2 separate regions of the Homo sapiens genome follow, and region 1 is linked to region 2. Evidence: promoter capture Hi-C in human tissues and cell types (Jung and others, 2019). All regions are on one chromosome and are shown on one strand. Each heading gives the region's core, a stretch centred on a gene start or on the middle of the fragment in contact. The rest is flanking DNA. Distances are from core to core; before and after follow the strand shown.

The links. The method cuts DNA at HindIII sites, captures the fragments that hold promoters and counts their contacts. A contact is called where the count stands out against the background at its distance.
Region 1: a contact is called between a fragment that was not itself captured here and the fragment with the promoter of GABRG2 in region 2, in 1 of the 25 tissues and cell types used here (heart left ventricle).

Annotation. Positions count from the first base shown.
Region 1 is chr5:162,524,935-162,527,634 of GRCh38, reverse strand. No RefSeq gene overlaps it. Among named protein-coding and RNA genes, the nearest start is that of GABRG2, 460 kb to the right of the region's middle. The HindIII fragment of the contact is 5,952 bases long and covers 1-2,700 here.
Region 2 is chr5:162,066,371-162,069,070 of GRCh38, reverse strand. It overlaps GABRG2 (gamma-aminobutyric acid type A receptor subunit gamma2), which reads right to left and starts at 1,298. Exons shown (of 10, transcript NM_198904.4): 1 at 965-1,298. The coding sequence starts at 1,071. The HindIII fragment of the contact is 5,062 bases long and covers 1-2,700 here.

The DNA of each region.
Region 1 (2,700 bases), core at 68-2,567, 460 kb before region 2:
GTTTTATACACATTTGGCTGCTTCAGAAAGAGCCAAGGACTTCACCTGATCATTGGGGCTCTTCCTAAGACACCTCAAGGGAGAGTCCTTTAATATGTGGCTTCCTGTCATTCCCATGGCCAACAAATCAGGCCAACCAATCAGGCCATACCACCACAGGCAACACAGTTTTAACAGCATGGGCCTTGGAACCAGACAAACCTAGACTGGAATCTTGTAATCACCTACTGCTAACAGCATAACCTTGGATGAGTTACAATCCTATCTAGATTTTAGTGTCCTCATTTGTAAAATGGGATTAGTAACACCTAGCTCCTTGGTTTGTTGTAGGAATTAAGTAAAATGATTAAGGAAAAAATAATAAGCCATTAATTGAGATGCATTTATAAATAACTCTTGAGCTCAGCACAGGAAAGAATTCTGATGGATTGGTGATGTTTCTGACAGCATAGGATAGGGAATGGCAGTGCAATTTGCAATCTCATATTTCTCACTTTCAAATCTTACAAGGTCATTGTCATTGGTTTCTTTGAGCTCTGGCTTGAGAAAAAAGGAGAACATAGTTCTACGGATGGAGGATGATTCTATTTACAGAGGTTAGATTTTTTTTTTATTGTAAACTTATGATAAAAGGAATTTAAGTTTAATGTAGGCAAGAGATTACCAGAAGTATGGGAAAAATAATCCCAAGAGAGATTTGGAATTATTTAGGAATTTTAAGAGTAAACTAACTGGCCGGTCGTGTTGGCTCACACCTGTAATCCTAGCACTTTGGGAAGCTGAGGCTAGTAGATTGCCTGAACTCAGGAGTTCAAGACCACCCTGGGCAACATGGTGAAACCCTGTCTCTACTAGAAATACAAAAAAAAGAAAAAATTTTCTGGGTGTGGTGGTGTGCACCTGTAGTCCCAGCTACTCGGGAAGCTAAGGCACGAGAATCACTTGAGCCCAGGAGGCAGAGGTTGCAGTGAGCCGAGATTGCACCAATTCACTCCAGCCTGGGTGACAGAGTGAGACTCCATCTCAAAAAAAAAAAAAAAGAGTAAGCCAACAAATATTAATACACATGTGCAAAGTCTAAGGGAAATCAGTCCAGAATAAAAATAAATAAAGGTAAATCTCAGAAAGCACCTTCAAGAAGGTGGATTAACGGGTCAGGCATGGTGGCTCACGCCTGTAATCCCAGCACTTTGGGAGGCTGAGGCAGAGGGACCACGAGGTCAGGAGATCGAGACCATCCTGGCTAGCATGGTGAAACCCCATCTCTACTAAAATAATTAAAAAATAATAAATAAAAAAAGAAGGAAAAGAAGGTGGATTAAAAGCACCAAGTAGTCTTATCCTCCACAAAGGGGAACCAAAATAGTGAGAAGATAACTGCAATGCAAATACATAAATACATAATGTAAGAAAGAACACTGGAATTCAACAGAGAAGCTACAGGAAACACCTAAAATAAGCACGGAGAGGGAAGCATGGCAGTCTGCTTCTCTGGGATCATCCGGTAGCCTGAAGAGATTCTCCATTGCAGTCAAGGATAAGTGAGTCACCCATAGAGCTTCACATTTCCACTATGGACTCTTGCATCCTGGGCATGGGAAAGCCCCTAGACCCTTGCAGTCCCTAAGACTAGCATAAGGAGTTGCATGGAGGCAGTATGAAAACATTGTTCCAGACAGGGAGCTCACACTGAGTCCAATACATTCTAAGCTAAGCAGCTACTGAAAGACAGCATATTTAGAGCCCAGCCTCCACCAGACTGCATCCTGCCTGGAGGTCCAACAGTGCTTGCATCCCCACATCTCTAGAGCCTTCAGAGATTCCCCACCTTCAGCCACCACCATGGCTGGATGCTGCATCCAGGGCTGAAGTATGAGCTTTTGGCAAATACCCTGTTGCCCCAGGAGTGATGTCACTTCACATTTTCATGCACTCTGAGGGCAAACTCTGCAACTAGCAGTAGCCATCACTACAAGCTGTCACATCCAGGGTTGAAACACAAGTGAAGCACATACTCCTCAGCTGTCTGCCTATGACTGTTGTCCCTGAAAGCACACCTGTTCTCCCCAATAGTAGGTCTACAGTGCAGCCACTGCTGCTGCCACCCTCACCCAGAGCATTCTGCTGTGGGCCTTGGGCTCAATCTGCTGCTGCCTACCACAGCCAGTGCCTATCCACACCACTTGGGTGCTGGAGGATGGGCCCACCAAGCCCTGCTTTACATTCTTATGCTGTTCAAGGGCCTGGGGACTTCCCTGCCCAGTCCACTACTGTTGACACCCGAGTGTTCCTCTTAAGGGACTGAGATCAGGCCCACCCAACCTGTTGCTACCATCACAGTTGGCACTAAACTGCACATGCTTCTGTGGGCCTGGAAACTGGCCCACCTTGCTCATTGCAGCCACTGCTAACACTGGCAAATACCACTTGGTTCCCAAAGGTTAGACACCCCACTGCTATTGCCATTGTCCACAACATGCAGGCTGCTAGAGGCCTGATAACCCACCACCAGCAAAGCCTATCAATGCCTAGAGGCTCAAAAATTCATCCCTCTGAACCATCTAAAACTGGTGCCAGTGTATTCAGCCCTAGGGACCAAGGACAGGCATGCTCTGCCTGCTGCTGCCACCACTGGTCCCTGAGCACTGGCCCAACTGGCATCCTGAGCCCAGCAAAACTTCACCACAGCCTCCACTAACA
Region 2 (2,700 bases), core at 49-2,548:
TTCAGGAGTCCAGTCTCCAGCCTTACCTTTTTTTTTCTATTCAGTGCAGCAAGGTTTTAAAACATTAATGTGTACTTCACGATTATGGCATCACATTCACCTGGTTCAGCATATTTTCCAACACTGCAGCAAGGCCAACTCTTTTCCAGACGTATATTCCCCTATGCAATCATTTAACTACGTTCTCCACCCTATGCCCAATAGTCCCCTTCCCATATCAAGGAGGGAGTAGAGGTAAACAGATCAGGATCTGTATATTTCATTAGTGCCCCGTGGCTTCATTGGCCTTCTCTCTGACTCTGTGGATGCCCTGAGTATATTTAGAGACGTTCTATCAGGTTAGACAAGCCTCTATCCCTTTGGCCCTCACCAGGACTGCTGTCCCTGGTGCTGAACCATGTTTGCACACGGGTAGTTGGCTGTTGGGTCAATGGGACTGGATGCAAAACCTGGCTGACTGACCTTAAGAATGCCAGGTGCAGAAGCATGCGATGCCTTAGTACACAGGAACAGGGCCGCCCGCCGCCCCTCCCCCCAGCTCCCTCACACATATCTCTCCGGTGTGCGCCAGGACCCATTTGTAAATTTCTCCATCAGACCCCCACCCAAAATGCTTGCAACACGGCCTCAAATGCCGGCGTGTATCAGCACAGCCCACTCCGATATCAGATTGCAATAATGTCAAAATGCTACTCCCTAAATATTTAGTCTTTATGAGGTTACCTTTTCCACTCTAAAACCAAACAAAAAATAAAATAAAATCCAATAAATGAATACATTAACGAAAGTGACCTTCCACTTTCCTCCCTCCAGTCCCCGCCCCATATATTCGCTCTCTCCTAAATTGTAAAGCCGCACATCCTAGGAGAGTGTTTTAAATCTGGGTGGTCTCCCGAGTTACCCCTCCCCACACCTTCCCCCCACCTCTTCAGAACAAAACGACGCCAAAAAGGGCACATCTTACCCAGGGTAGAGCGACAGCAGGAGCAGAATCCACACCGTCATTTTCTGTGAAAATACAGGAGTCGAGTAGACTGAGCTTCCTGTGCTCCATATATTTGGCGAACTCATCGCTTTTTTTTTTTTCCTTCTCTCGCCTCTTGCCTCTTGGTTGCAGAAGAATCCCTCCCCTTTGTATTATTCTTATGCTTATGATCTGATGGTGGCTCCCCCCACCTGCCTCTAGTAGGTCCTTCACTGGGGAGATGGATTGCTACCAGATTAGGGAATTAATATTCAGGGGGCAGAGATAAGATCAGCAAAAACGCTTGCAGATACCATCAAAGCGTCACTCTGGCAGCGGCTTCCAAGTCTGGGGGAGTAATATCATCGAGGCAGGGGGAGGGTACAAGGAGAGACTCATACGGAGACAAATAAGGGAGAGGGAAAGACACGCACACTCGTGTATACTCATGCCCCTCACACTTACGCGTTCTCCCCTGGGTCCATCTCTTTGGGGTTATTTATTTGTTTGTTTTGATTTTTTTTCTTTTACAGGGGGCAGAGCCCTGTGGGTGTGTGTATTTAAAATAAATAGGAAAAAAATCACTAGAGACTCTGCGTGATTAACTATCACGCAGATTAACTATGAGGTCAAAGTGGAAGTGATGCACGCTGCTGCAGCACGAATTAACACATGCGTGGTGTCTTTCCAAAGCTTTTTAACCCTTTACTGCACACACCAGCATGCAAGGACTGGCATTCATGGGGACAAGAGATGCTTTAGCAAGCCCAGAAGCTACATCATCAATGACAGAAGGTTTGTGGTCGTCAGATCTGCCAAGAATCCTTATTTTAAACTCGTACAGTCTTAGAAATCATGGTTGCATTGTTAGAGCTGGGGGAGCAGACAGTGGGGGAGGTGTGAGTGTCTCAGTAAGTCATCCTGTAGGCAGACAGATTTGGTGAATTCAATTTGAATGAGAGAAGAAAACATTGATAGAATTAAAGGACATGGAGAAATTCTATGCTACTCAAGATTCATTCCTCCCTTGTCAGTTCTCCAACCCCAGTGAAAATGCACAGACACAAAACTGCTTGAAGTTTGACAAATGTAATTGCGTGGGGATAGCTGCTTGAATAAAGATTACACATCACAAAATAGGAGGGCTGTTTTTTGAAGGAAGGGTGGGCAGAGGGGTATAATCAGGAGGTCATTTAACAATGCAAAGGGATTTCTGTTTGTCATGTGGGGGGTTGATTTTTTGTTCTTGGTAATAATCCCGAAAGTTTTTAGTTTGGATGAGTGGTATTAGTATGCTTCTTTCTTGCCTAGAATGTTACTATAGATACTAATATGTAGAAGATACCCCCTTTATGCCAAACCAGTTCATCCACCACAGAGGAAATCCCTTTCATTAATCATGAAAAATAAAGTGGGGGAGTGTTTCATGGTTCTTTAAAGTCAAGATACCACATTGAAAGTATGCAGGAAGCAGTAGTAGTGATGAGGAACAATCTTAGCTCTTTGTGGAAAGTGACAAGGAGTTGTTTCAAAATAAGTGCCTTTTTTGCAAGAAAAAAGTCTTCCAGGAATGGAACTTGGGTAAGGAGTCTAGGAGACATAGGAATAGAACATGAGAAAATCAGGTCCACACTCCATCACTAACACTAAAGTATATCCAAGGAAAGCAGAAAGAATTACCAGTGGCTGCTGCCCATCACATGGGCTGAGGAGATGCATCCTGACAATGAAGCAAA